5 separate regions of the Homo sapiens genome follow, and all the other regions are linked to region 3. Evidence: promoter capture Hi-C in 16 types of primary human blood cells and fetal thymus (Javierre and others, 2016). All regions are on one chromosome and are shown on one strand. Each heading gives the region's core, a stretch centred on a gene start or on the middle of the fragment in contact. The rest is flanking DNA. Distances are from core to core; before and after follow the strand shown.

Region 1 (2,700 bases), core at 76-2,575, 330 kb before region 3:
TCATGAGTGTCCTCCCTTCAGGGGACCCAGCCATTGGCTTGGGTAGATTAGTTCTGATTTAACCCCAAAATAATGACTTAGTGGCTTTCCTAACTGCAGCCAGCTTTGCAGGGCCTCCGAGCTTTCAGGCCACCTCCCCTCCCAGATGCCCTTGAGCTGGACCTGAGAAGACCCGCCCAGAGGAAGGCGAGGAAGACTCCACAGGGGTGACAGGGGCCCAGACACCCCCTATCTGCATCAGGACCCATGTGAGCAGAGCTCACCCTGTTGTCGCCCTGGGCACTGTGGCCATCTGCCAAGGGACAGATAGATGGACCTTCCTAGTCCTCAGGCCTCAGGCCATCCACAGGGTAAACCCACATCCACCCACATCTCCTGGAGCCTCCCCCGCCTGGGAATGGGAGCGAATGACCCCATCACACTGGTCTGATGGATGAGTGAGCAGCACCCAGGAGGCCGGACGCGGGAGGCTTGGCCTGGCCGGCAGGGAGTGGGCGCCCTGGGCTGGGACCGGGTTTCCTGCTCCCCTCTGTCTAGGCTTTTCCTGGGGGACCTGGCCTTGGAGGCCAGCGCCTGAGGGCCCCGCAAGACAGTCAGTCTTGCTGTCACTCCCAATGCCATCTTGTGTCCCCTCTCCCCAGACCCCTCTGCTCTGGGAGACTGGTGAGTGAACACCTCGTGAGGTGCATCCTGTGTGGGCAGGATTCCGACCAAGTGCTCCGACGTGGAAGGAAAGAATGCACACTCAGGCAATCTGGGTGTGACCACCTTGCTGTCCTGCGATCTAGGGGATGAGAGGAGGTGACAAGGCCCAAGGGGGTCATGCCGCAGACATGCCCAGGCCCGGCCTGTGTGGTCAGCTGAGGGTCCTTTAGCTGCCCGTCTACTGTCCTCAGGTAGGATGCCTCGTGCTGGGAGCCAGGCCGCCCAGCACCCTTCCAGCCTCTGCTGACTCCAGCTGTGTGTCGTCGGGCATCTTACTCAACCTCTCTGTTTCTTGTCCTTCTGCGCCTAGGGTCATGATAGACCTTGCTTCCCAGCAAGCATGGAAGAGGCTGCGAAGAACAGCTGGTGCCCAGGAAACTGGGAAGCCCTGGCTAGGTCTCAGTGCTGTGGCTGCTGGTGTTCACACCATGGGCCAATGCTAGGGATTCACAGAGGCAGGGGATGGGGTCCCTGCTCCAGGGTTCTCCCAGTCTGAGGGGCAGACATGTGACTGATGTCAACTCTCCTGGGTGGCCTGGGGTGAGAGAGAGTGACTCATCCCTGGGTGCCTTGGGGACGGTGGCCCTAGGAGGGGACTCCCCTGGCCCTGAAGAGTTGTGTGGCATCCCAGGTAGAGGGGCTGGAGGGGTAAAGCCCACCGCCATGCTCCGAGCACGCTGAGGGCTTGGTGTGAGAGTGTGGTGGATGTGGGTTGGGTGGGCTGCGAGGCCTCCAGCCTCCCACCTGCCTGCCTTTATTGATTTCCAGGGATTCAGGACCTCAGACGCTGGGCCGGTGACAGGCCCCTGGGATTCTGGTCGCAGTCCAAAGGGTCTCTGGCCACCCTGGGCCTGATCAAGTCCTCCCTCTATCTGGATCTATTTCTCCGTCACCAAAAGTTGGCACTTGGGTTTAGTGGCTGACAGCCCTTCTGATTCTAACAGGAAGTGGCTCTGCAGGGTTCCGTCACGCACGCGCTGTGCTGGGGGTCCAGGAGAGGGCTCTAGGAGTCGGACGGTTGGTGGGGGAGGATGGAGTCTGGCTGCAGAGCCCAAGCATGTTTTGTGGGGGCCCGGCGGGTGAAGGGTGTCACAGCGATGGAGGTGCAAGGTGATAGATGAGAGAGGCAGTCCCAGCACAGGAACCCAAGCAGGCAGCACCTGCATGGCATGGCTCTCCCGCCCTCCATTCGCGGGGCGGCCTCCCATCCTCCATTCTGATGGTGACATTGAAAATGAAACGCCAGGACCCCAGCACCTGCATGGTGTGGCCCTTCCGTCCTCCATTCTTTTTTCTTTTACTTTTTTCTTTTTTTTTTTTTTTTTGAGACAGAGTCTTGCCCTGTCGCACAGGTTGGAGTGCAGTGGTGTGATCTCAGCTCACTGCAACCTCCGCCTCCCGAGTTCAAGCGATTCTTCTGCCTCATTCTCCCAAGTAGCTGAGACTACAGGCACCTGCCACCATGCTTGGCTAATTTTTGTGTTTTTAGGAGAGACGGGGTTTCACCATGTTGGCCAGGCTGGCCTCGAACTCCTGACCTCAGGTGATCCGCCTGCCTCGGCCTCCCAAAATGCTGGGATTACAGGCATGAGCCACCACGCCCGGCCTCCATCCACCCTTCTGATGGTGACATTGGAAATGCCAGGACCCCAGGGGTTCAGGTGGCCAACCCAGCTTCCAATCCACCCGTGTAGCCCCATGTGCCATGCCTTGGGTAGGTTGCCAGGGTTCTGAGCCTCTCCCTCCTTGTGTGAAAGCCCCTCTCCTGGATCTGGGCAGAGGGTGTGCACAGCCTCTGGAAGTGGCCTGGCGGGCGTGGGGGCTCAGTGAGCACAGGGCCTGGGCTTGCAGGTGAAGCCCGAGGAGGTGGTATGGCTCCACCTGGCTGCCCTGGGGACCCAAGGTGCGGGCATGGGCACTGGCCCTCTGCCCCAGGAGAACGGCTGCCGGCCTTGACATCTTGGCGCCTCCCCCGCTCCCTCAGCCCTGTCCCCT
Region 2 (2,700 bases), core at 163-2,662, 270 kb before region 3:
TGGTATATTTATAATCAGGGAAAAACTATTTTTAAAGACTCATTATAGGAAGATAGACAAATAGAGACAAATGGCATGCTTTCTTTCAGTCATTGGGGATGGATGATACACGTAGCAGAAGTATTCGTTAGACCAACAAATAGGAATAGTAAGTCAATATTGTTCTTTCTTTAATAAAAGATTTATATGTTGGTAGCTTATTAATCCAATACTATGTGAGTTTTCTAACCAAACACATATACTTGTACGCCAGGGCAGAAAAATCTCAATTAAGATTTTGTGTGGACTCGGGAAGTGTTTTTGTTCCCTAAACAATAGCCTTAAGAAGGGTGGAAAAAGGCCCGTCTTCTTCTTGGATCCTTGGTTGGGTGACAACCCTCCGGTGGTGAGACATGGTGCCTGATTTTCAGTTGGGGCTTTCTGCTTCCCCTGTTTGGTTTTCTAGGGACAATTTAAAAGATTCTGCAAGTTAATTACTGGAGAAGTCCGTAGATCCTGGATTCATAGTATCAGATTAATTGTGGTCTTTGAGTGGGAATCCTAGTGGTTTATTTAGACTCATCAGTTGTCTTATTCTTTTTTTTAAAAAGAAAGAAAACATTTATTTTCGTAAGCTTGTATTGCCCTTAAAATATTTCTCTGCACTCTTAGGTCACCTGCCTATTCACGCCAGGAGCGCATCGCTTGCGTTAAGAGACTAGAAGTTTCTTTCTTAACCATAATGTGCCAGGATTTTGTTATACGGAAAAATCTGTCCGTGTTTCCAACTAATATTTCCTAGCCTTCAGGCAAGTGCGACTTGCTTCACTGTAAAATGGATTCCCAGGACCTGCCGTATCGGGACGGGCAGAATTCTTTAAAATGCAGTGCCCCGGGCAACCCCATCACTTCCCGGCTGGCTCCGGGCGGTCCCGGGCTGCCCGCCGGCCGCAGAGCCCCCTCTCCCGGGCCCGCCCGGCCGGAGCCTCAGTTTCCCCGGCAGAGCGGGGCGGAGGCGAGGCTGGGGACGCTCGGGCGGCGGGGAAGGGGCCGACTCGGCCAGGCGCGCCCGGCTGGGAGGTCCCGCGGGCCCTGGAGCCTCCCGCAGCCCGCCTGGGCCTCCGGGGCGCGACCCCCTAATCCGCTTTAGTCAATATCTTATGAGCTCCGCTTGGGCAAAGTAAACAGGCGCCGAACAAAGCGGCGGCCGCAGCCCGCGACTCCTGACCCCGGGGTCGCGCCCTTTGTTCGCCCTCAATGGGGCAGCCCCGCCGCCCGGCCTGCGGCTAATTGGGGCGCGTGCCGCCGCCTCTGCCCGGACCGCACCCTGGACTCTGCCTGGGACGCGCCCTCGGACGCAGGCCCCGGACCCGCCCGCCAACTCCGACCCGACCCCGGCCTGGGACCCCGGCTCGAACCCTCGTCCCTGCCCAGGCGGACCCCGGCCCCGGCCCGGACCCTCTGCAGCGGCTCCGGGCCCAGGCTCCGACTCCAGGCCTCGGTTCGAACCCTGGGGACCCGCCCCGCCCCGCTGCAGACCGGCCTCCCCGCCCGCCGCGGACCCCGAGCCTCAGGCCTGGTGCCGGACTCGGCCCTGCCTCGCGTGCCCGCCCTGGGGCTGCCTGGAGGAGGCGCACCGAGGCCTCCCTGCCTTCAGAGCCGCTGCGGGCCTGGGCCCTGTGTCCCCCCAGGTCCGCAGCTGGCCGGCTGAAACTGGCCCGCACCTCCCGCCCCGGGGCCGGGTGCTCCTGGTCCGCGCAAGGTCCCCACGCACTCCCGCGGCCACGTGGGTGCCTGTCCCCTGGAGCGGGGTTGGGGGAGGCCGCAGAGACACTGCTCCCGGGGTCCCTGTGCAGGCCCCGTAAGGATTTCAGACAGCCGTGATGCAGAGGAGACGTGTATTAGTTCTTGTTTTTCTTTTTCTGCTCTTTATTTCTGCTTGGAAGCCTGTCACACGGGAAAGAAAAGACGCTCCATCTATGCGAACCCCACTCCCCTGGTGAGGGAAGCCGGAACCCTTCAGACCCTCTGCACGTGGGCTCCCTCCCCGACAACCTCTTTTTCCTCCACATCACAACCTTTCCAGCACCTGGGAACGGTTCTAGGCCAGAGGAGGATGCTGAGGCCATGAATGCATCCGTTGACACGAAATTCAGGCCTTGACCATTTCACGTCTTTCTGTTCTTCGTTTTTTCCTCAAATGTTGGACAAGGTTATAATGTTTATCCCAAGAAGCTTTTGAGACTTAGCACTTGTAATTTTCGTAAGGGTTCTGTTTGATTTTTAAAAAGGTACTTTCTTTTGTAATTAGGTGCAAAAAGGAAAGCACAGAAAGGACTCTTCTTGAAAGCCTTTGCCTCCAAAGATGAGCAGAAAGGCTTCCAGTTCCTGGCACCGCCAGGCAAGGCCCTCTACCTGATTCTCACTTATTTCAGTTTTGTTCACCAGCTGTAAATACTGCTAGGCTTTGCCAGGAAGACTTTTTTTTTTTTATGTTGAGTTTGTTTTTGAGCTTGTTGATTGCACGGTGGAATATTCTAACGTGGAATTTGGCTTTGGGAAGACTTGGTGTTCAGGAGTTGTCGGATATGCCCTGCTGTTGTGAGGATGGAGCTGGGTAGGGGTCCTGCCGTGGGCCATGAGTGGGGGTAGGCAGGTGTGGCCGTCACCTTCTGGGTGTGCGGTGCAGATCTCCACCTGGGAAGGAAAGCCCTTGGGAGA
Region 3 (2,700 bases), core at 124-2,623:
TGGCATGCATATTCCCATTGCAATGCCCTATTCACAAATGAACATCTTTTTCGTTCAGAGTCTCCCTGTGCTTTAGGTAGACCTTGTCTAGATGCTAACTCGTAGAGAAGAACTCAGCTTGAATATCACCCCTGGGGGATGACCTCCATTCTCTCCTCCTTCCTTTATTCAGCGAGGTTATGAAGCACCTGCCCTGGGCCAGGGGCTTTTCTGGGCATGGAGTAGGAGTGGACAGAACACAAAACCCCTGTCCAACACACCTCACAGACATTAAGGATTGAGTGCTGAGTATGCTTGGAGTCAAACTGTAAAAGATTTGAAGATATTTATTCATGTCATAGTCCCAGGAGATCCTGAGAACACGTGCTCAAACTGGTGGTGCTACAGCTTTTGGTTTCGTACGTTTTAGGGAGACATAAGCCATAAATCAATACATGTAAGATGTAACATTGGTTCCGGAAAGGTGGGACAACTCGAAGGTGGGGTGGGGCTTCCAGGTCATAGGTGGATTCAAAGATTTTCTGGGCCGGGGGCAGTGACTCACACCTGTAATCCCGCCACTTTGGGAGGCTGAGGTGGGCGGATCCCTTGAGGTCAGGAGTGAGAGACCAGCCTGGCAAATACGGTGAAACCCCGTCTCTACTAAAAATACAAAAATTAGCTGGGCTTGGTGGCGGGCGCCTGTAATCGCAGCTACTAGGGAGGCTGAGGCAGGAGAATCGCTTGAATCTTGGAGGTGAAGGTTGCAGTGAGCCGAGGTCGCGCCCACTACACTCCAGCCTGCGACAGAGCAAAACTCCATCTCAAAAAAATTTAATTAATTAAAAATTAAATTAAATTAAAATACTGTAAAATACTTCGATATCTTTCAGGGCCTGCCATCTGTCATGTCGGTATCCTATTGCTACGGAGAGTCCGCCTAGACAGTCTTAAGTCTGTTTTGACGTTAATGCTGGTCCGAATTCCAAAGGGAGGAGGAGGGTCTAGTGAGGCGGGTCCCACCCGGCCTTTCCCATCAGAGCCCGAACTCGCGGTTCAGGTTCCCTCTAGGACGCCCTTGGCCGAGAGGAGGCCTCCAATGGCTGGCTGGGGGGCTTAGAATTTTATTTTTGGTTTACAGCGCAGAAGAAGAGCAGTGAGGCCGGGGCGCGGGTGGGGAGGGCAAGGCGGCGGCTCAAAAAAAAAGCCAGCCCCTCGCGGCCCGACAGAGTCTCGGCGCCCCGCGGGTCGGTGGAGCCTCAGGGGTGAGCGCAGGCCGGAGACAGGGGAACCCGCCGCGGGACAGGGGAAGGCCGGACGGAACGCGGGTAAGCTGCCGCAGCTTCCGGCCGGGCCACTAGCGCGGACCCTACGGCCGGGGCGGGACTTCCGGCAAGGCGCGGAAGCGGCGGTAGCTGCAGCTGGCGAAGTTGGGCGACTGGCGGATGCAGGCCTTGCGGCACGTCGTGTGCGCCCTGTCCGGCGGCGTGGACAGCGCCGTGGCCGCGCTGCTGCTGAGGCGGAGAGGTGAGGCGTCCGAGGCTCCCGCCCCCCGCCGAGCGAATGTGTCCCCGGAAACCTGTCCCCGTCCGTCGTGGCGTTGTGCACGTCTCCTCCCTCCCTGGGCCGCTGGTTGCGCGCGGGTCGGCAGGAGGATACCCCGTCCTCTGACTTTGGTTCGGAGGCTCCTCGCCCTCCACCTGTGTAGTCGGAGGTGTGCGCGACTGCAGCTCCGACTACCTGGGAGCAGTTCCGCGCCCCTCTCCACCCACGCGCGCCCACCCACAGTGAGAAGCCGGCGGGCCGGGGTGGGGTGGGGAGGGAAGGGTTTCTCACGGATCTGCGGCGTCCACATTCACCTGTGAGACCGTGGACACTGGTGAGGGGAGCTGGGATCGCCGGGCCGGGGGCCTGACCTCTGCACACGCTGTGGCCGCCCGGTGGGAGGTCCTTGTCCTCCCCACTCAGCAGACTGGACAACTGCCGCGCGGCGGGTCTGCTTGTTCAGCGTCTCCTGTGTTCTCCGCTCGCTGGAGGACAAAGTTTTCTCCAGGAGCATTTGCATTTCTTCCGGCATCTAAACGGAGCCCCACGGGTGCTTAGCATTCCTCGGGCCCGGCGCTGAAATGAGCACTTGTTTAACTTCACCTGTGTGGCTCCCCGCGGGAGGCCTCATTCACAGAGTCACGTTTGTGGAGCTCTGCTTTGCGCCATCTTTGGCTCCTGACCTTGGGCAAGTGAATTAAGCCGTCCCCTGTAAAATTCGGCTAACACCTGCCTCACGGGGTGACTGGAGGGATTAGATGACATAGTACATACTGATGAGTACGTGCTCAGCACATACGAGGTACGCAGAAAACAGTAGTGGCTATTAGTTTATATTGTTAATAACCATAGCTATTATGGTAGGTACAGTAAGTGCCAAAGAGAAGGGTAGGCGGACCATAAGCAGAAATAGTTGTGAGGAAGGGAGAGTGGAGGAAAGCATCCTAGAGATGGAGGTGCTCAGCTGAGTCGAAAGAAGAGTAGGATGTCACTAAGCAGAGACTTGGAGGTGGAGGCGGCCCTCCCGGCACAGTCAGCAGTGCAAGCAGAATCACAGAGGCCTGCAAGTGTGGGCTGGTTCTGGCCAGATGGAGATGGAAGGAGAGGAGCCTGGAGCACGTTTAGCCCTGATTATGGAAGATGCTATACCAGGGGCTTTAGACTGTTAGGTAGACA
Region 4 (2,700 bases), core at 36-2,535, 350 kb before region 3:
TCTCAGGGAAGGGGCTAGGAATCTGAATGTTTAATCAACACCCAGGTGGCTCCAGAGATCAAGCACAATTGGCAAATGATAGTTCTGGCAAACGTGTAAACTGCAGAAAGTTCCGTGGGAAGGTCCACACCCCAAGTCCTCTCAGTGTACACCCTGAGCCCCTAGGGGGTTCCCAGCCCTTGCCAAGGGAGGTGGAGGGCTCCTAGGGGAGAAGCAGTCCCTCCCAGGAGGGACAGAGTCCCCACTGGGGATGGGGAGCAGGGGCCACCTGGGGAGGAGGCTGCGGGCGTCAGATGATTTCCAGCAGGAGCCTGTGTGTGCCCACCAGGACCCCTCATCCAGAGAAGGGCAGACAGAGCTCTGGCATTTCTGGAGGGAGAATGAGGAGCCCCCAAAGGCAAATCCAGGAGCTTGACCCAATTCAGGGCAGAAGCTAAGGGATATCCAAGAGCCCAGGGAGCAGAAGGAGGGGGTGAGCACCAGTGACGGCAGTGGCTGCTCCAAGATGGCCTCCCACTGCCATCACACAGACTGCAGCAGGGAGGCATGGCCAGGGCCGCATACTCCATGGAGCAGGCCGGAGCCCCACCCTCCTAGGTGGGGCTGCAGCCGCCCAAATTGTGGCTGCAGATCTGAGCATCCCTGTGCTCTTGGGACAGGAGCAGGCAAGAGCCCTACCCTCCCAGGCACAGCTGCAGCCACCAAAACTGTAGCTGCAGACTCAGGAATTTCTGCACTCAGGGACCTGGGAAGGCCCCCACTGCCCTTGCAGGCTTGGAAGTGCCTGTTCCCACTGCCTGGCTTTTCCCTGCCGTCAGTGCCTGCTTTGATCTCAAAGCAAAGTCAGGGCCAAGCCCTGGTGCCATGAATGGCAGCAGGAGGCAGGCACATTCCTGGGAGGAAGGGGACGGGTCCCCCGTGAGGCTCCACCTTTAGGGCCAGGGAGGGCCTGAAGGCTGGAGGCTGGGCTTCCAGTCCCACCAACCTGAATGGGAATTTGTGGTGCCTTTTCTGGGCCTGCCCATGGCTACCCATGGACCAATCTGCATGCACTTTCTCCCCTCTGAGGCCCATAAAAACCCTGGGCTCAGCCAGAGCTGAGCAGATTACAAGTTGATCAGCTGCTGAGAGGAGCTACCCTCTCTGCTGAGAGCTTCAGAGACCTGAGGAGATGTCAGAATAACCTGCCTGCAGAGAGGCACTACCCTCTCTGGGGCTTCCTCTCTGCGGAGAGCTGAACACTCGATGGGACAACCTGCCTAGAAAGAGGAGCTACCCACTGCAGGTCTCCTCTGAGCTGTTCTAATACTCAATAAAGCTCCTCTTTGTCTTGCTTACCCTCTACTTGTCTGCATACCTCATTCTTCCTGGATGCAGGACAAAAACTCAGGCAAAGACGCCACTGGTCACAGAGGTTTCCAGCTAAAAAGACGACACCCAAAAGATCCTGTAACACCAGGAGCTAGCATGGGTTCACTGGGAATGAAATGTGTAGGCTCCCTGTGACTTCTGACCTCTGTGAGGGTCATGAACCCAGGAGGTGAGGCATTTGACAGGGAGGCTCGGGACTGCCTCATAGACAAACTCACATCACATCTTCTATGTTAAAACAAATGCTCTGTGTCTCTAACAAAAGTCCTCTCCAGGACCAGGAGAGCTGAGGTCAGGCTGCCCAGCACATCCAGCTGCACCTTGACCAAAACTCCAGGCTGCCTGAGCCTGGCAGTCAGCCGAGAGAGGAGGTGATGAGGGCCAGGTGTGCTGAGTGAGGCTGAGGCAGGGGCGAGCCCCCATCTCTGCAGATGAGGATCTGGAGTCCAGGTGAGGCCTGGTCTGCGCTTGTCCATGAACCCCTTCCTCGGTAGGAGAGCCAAGGACCTGAGTCTGGAGAGGGATGCTCCTGGCCCTCCCTGACCCCAACATACAATCACTCCTCGCCTGTGGCAACCGACCAGCACCGCCCTGATGGGGCAGCTCCAGGACCCTGGCTAAGCTGGGTTTGCTGGTGGGCAAAAGCAATGTGCCCTGGGCAGTCCTTTACCTCCTCCTTCCATGAGGGTCACTTTGACCTCCACCCTGCACTGATGACTGCTGGTGGAAGATCCAGGTTTGAGCTTTGAGGGAGGAGGAGGGAAGGCCCTTTCCAGTGCCTCCCACCACAGAATGAAGAGTCCTTTGATTTCCTGCTTGAGTCCCCCATGGGGAGAAGATGGATGCCCAAGGCTGAATCTGAGCCTTCCAGAGTTCCCTGCATAAAGCCCACCCTCTAAAAGTGCCACGACCCAGTGGGACTAACCTAGCACATGATGCCAGAGTGCCCAGCACCCAGGGCTGAGGCTGGGTTAGGCCACAAAGGCCACCGAAAGCCAGGCCACCATTTGGACCTCATCCTTCTAGGCAAGGGCCCGACACCGAGCACTCAGCTGCCTGTCTCCGCTGGGGCTTCTTGTGGCTGCACCATGGGCATTCAGGGCAGGATCGTTCCCTGTGGTGGGGACCGTCTGTGCCCGGTAGGATGTTCAGCAGCGTCTCTGGCCTCTGCCCACTAGACGCTTTTAGCACACAGCATCCCCTGAGGTATGACAACAAAACGTATCCCCAGACATTGCCAAATGTCTCCCGGGGAGCAGAATTGGCTCCAGTTGAGAACCACTGGTCTAAGATATGAGCGTTGGACTTTTTGGTGTGGAGGACCCAGAT
Region 5 (2,713 bases), core at 171-2,670, 320 kb before region 3:
ATGGAACATTTTTCATAGTTATATTGGCAATTTGAAGTTTCTCTTCTGTAAATTTCCTTCCCATATCCTTTGCAAATATTTTATCTTATTTACTTACAAAGAGACTTTTGTATGTTACTGATATGATCTGGTTCTGTGTCCCCACCCAAATCTCATCTTGAATTGTAATCCAAACTGTAATACCCATGTGGTGGGGGAGGAATCTCGTGGGAGGTGATTGGATCATGGGGGTGGTTCCCCCGTGCTGTTCTCATGATACTGAGTGAGTTCTCGCGAGATCTGATGGTTTTATAAAAGGCTCTTTTCCCTTCGCTCTGCACTTCTCTCTCCTGCTGCCTTGTGAAGGAGGTGCCTGCTTCCCCTTTGCCTTCCGTCATGACTGTAAGTTTCCTGAGGCCTCCCCAGCCATGTGGAACTTGAGTCAATTAAACCTCTTTCCTTTATAAATTACCTAGTCTTGGGCAGGCACAGTGGCTCACGCCTATAATCCCAGCACTTTGGGAGGCCGAGGTGGGTGGATCACTTGAGTTCAGGAGTTTGAGACCAGCCTGGCCAACATGGTGAAACCCCATCTCTACTAAAAAGTGCAAAAATTAGCTGGGCATGGTGGCACGTGCCTGTAATCCCAGCTATTCAGGAGACTGAGGCAGGAGAATCGCTTGAACCTGGGAGGCAGAGTTTGCAGTGAGTCGAGATCGCATCACTGCACTCCTGCCTGGGCAAAAAGTGAGACTCCATCTCAAATAAATAAATAGATAAATAAAATAAATTACATAGTTTTGGGTATGTCTTTATAGCAGTGTGAAAACGGACTAATACACTTATGTTAGAAGGATTTTGTCCAGCACATAGTTTTTCCCGGTTTGTTGTTTGCCTTTTCACTCTGCTTATACTGTTTCCTCCCACACATGGAAACAAAACCGTATATATATTCTCCATTCTTTTCTTTGTGGCCCTGATGTGAGTCTCACTGCTTAGGAAGATATTTCTCAACCTCAAAATTAGGTAAATATTTATGTATACTTTATCCTCGTGTATTTATGGTTTCATTTTTTTTTTTGCCTTAAGGTTCTTTTTTTATTTATTTATTTTTTTGTTACCTTAAGATTCTTAACCCATCTCAAATTTATTTTGGTACAAGAAGAGAGACATGGATCTAATTTCATTTCATCTTTCTCAATGGTTGCCTGTTGCTCCATCCATCCCTTATTTAAAAAAAAAAAAATGTGTACCCAAACAAGCTGGGCACAGTGGCACATGCCTGTAGTCCCAACCACTTAGGAAGCCAAGGTGGGAGGATCACTTGAGCCCAGAAATTCAAGACCAGCCTTGGCAATATAGCAAGATCCCATCTCTAAAACATATCCCATACCTTTACCTCTTTCTACATTTTCTATTCTGTCTGTTGATCTACTTATTCCAGTGACAGCCCCATAAGTTTTTGAAAATGTTTGCTTTATAATTTGACTATCTGATATTAAATCCCACTAGAAATTATTTATTTAGCTAATATTTATTGAGTCCTTATATTGATCCCAACACTGTTTAGGTGCTGCGGGTACAGCAGCGAACAATGCAGACAAGAATTCTGTTTTTGTGGAACTTACATTCTGTTCAGATACCTATTGCTCATTCCTTCAAAATCTGGTGAAGAGTGAGTGGCAAGTACTCTTCAATGCCAAAGGGTGGGAGATCAACCCTGTCATGCGGTACTGTGTCCCCCATACTAAGAATACAAAGGTCCAGGAACCAAGGGAAAGGCTTAAGTCCAGGAGGTGAGACTGACTTCTCTCACCAGTCTCACATCCTTTGACTTTGTTAAGTTCAAGGTTCCGGTTCCCACAGGGGGATTCTTCCACCAAGCAATAAACTAGAGTCAACTGATCTTGAGGCCTCAATGACCTCTTGATCATGTTGGCTTCTTCATGCCAGTGGACCAACAGTGAAAGAAAGGAGTCACCATCCTGGCAGAGTCATTGACCCTGACCTCAAGAGAAGCTCGGCTTCGGGGCAAGGAGGAATCAGTCTCAGAACCAGATAATTCACTGCAGCGCCTCTTGGCACTTCCAAGGTGGTCATAGCGGGGACCTGGCAATGGCAGCAACCACAGCCAGCAAAAGCAAATGCAGATGAGGGCTCAGACCCTCCAAAGAGGAAGGCGAGGGCCCTGCCACTGCCACACAGCCTAGGCCCATGGAAGTGCTCATCTGGAATTGTGGTGGAGGATTGAGATGAGGTTATCGATCACGACCTCAGACCAGCTGCAGCAGTGGAGACTATAGCTTGTTCCACTAATAATCGTGTTTTAAGAACTTACAGATCTTGCTGCTGGCTGCCACCTTGAAGGGAACTCTGTGGCAGACTAGACATCATCAAAGACTCACATGCACATGTGAGGGAGGCAAGGGGTGGACTACACCAGGCCCCTCTTGTGCTCCACTTCAAGGTCCTCTCAACCCCAACTCCAGCCATTCCCACCACAGCCGGTCTTACAGTGGCTTCATCCAGCTTCATGTGGGTGCCAGCAGCCAGACAGTGCCTTGCCTTGGGCCCATGCTGGAGATCTCTTGCTTCCTGTCCAGGTGCTTCTCTGAATATGCGACTTAGTGGTCCTGGTGGAGCCCTCTGCAGTCACACTCGTGCAACATGGGAATGCTGGAAGTTAATGTCTACAGAACCACCTTGACTGGTGGCAAGTTGAGCTGATGGAGAA

What was found. The method cuts DNA at HindIII sites, captures the fragments that hold promoters and counts their contacts. A CHiCAGO score of 5 or more calls a contact.
Region 1: a contact is called between a fragment that was not itself captured here and the fragment with the promoter of TRMU in region 3, in 16 of 17 cell types (neutrophils, megakaryocytes, erythroblasts and 13 more). The highest score is 12.7, in neutrophils.
Region 2: a fragment that was not itself captured here is called in contact with the fragment with the promoter of TRMU in region 3 in 4 of 17 cell types (megakaryocytes, neutrophils, naive B cells and 1 more); the score reaches 5.8 in megakaryocytes.
Region 4: a contact is called between a fragment that was not itself captured here and the fragment with the promoter of TRMU in region 3, in 8 of 17 cell types (neutrophils, naive CD4 T cells, monocytes and 5 more). The highest score is 11.0, in neutrophils.
Region 5: a fragment that was not itself captured here is called in contact with the fragment with the promoter of TRMU in region 3 in 4 of 17 cell types (neutrophils, activated CD4 T cells, erythroblasts and 1 more); the score reaches 6.9 in neutrophils.

Annotation. Positions count from the first base shown.
Region 1 is chr22:46,002,981-46,005,680 of GRCh38, forward strand. No RefSeq gene overlaps it. Among named protein-coding and RNA genes, the nearest start is that of WNT7B, 27 kb to the left of the region's middle. The HindIII fragment of the contact is 8,534 bases long and covers 1-2,700 here.
Region 2 is chr22:46,060,383-46,063,082 of GRCh38, forward strand. All of the region lies in intron 1 of LOC124905135 (collagen alpha-1(III) chain-like), which reads left to right. Among named protein-coding and RNA genes, the nearest start is that of PRR34, 7.5 kb to the left of the region's middle. The HindIII fragment of the contact is 1,600 bases long and covers 613-2,212 here.
Region 3 is chr22:46,334,341-46,337,040 of GRCh38, forward strand. TRMU (tRNA mitochondrial 2-thiouridylase) reads left to right here and starts at 1,374. Exons shown (of 11, transcript NM_018006.5): 1 at 1,374-1,506. The coding sequence starts at 1,425. RefSeq lists enhancers at 1,412-1,631, 1,464-1,963 and a silencer at 1,772-1,821. The HindIII fragment of the contact is 6,278 bases long and covers 1-2,700 here.
Region 4 is chr22:45,986,761-45,989,460 of GRCh38, forward strand. No RefSeq gene overlaps it. Among named protein-coding and RNA genes, the nearest start is that of WNT7B, 11 kb to the left of the region's middle. RefSeq lists enhancers at 100-600, 601-1,101. The HindIII fragment of the contact is 8,373 bases long and covers 1-2,700 here.
Region 5 is chr22:46,019,272-46,021,984 of GRCh38, forward strand. No RefSeq gene overlaps it. Among named protein-coding and RNA genes, the nearest start is that of LINC00899, 24 kb to the right of the region's middle. The HindIII fragment of the contact is 2,954 bases long and covers 1-2,713 here.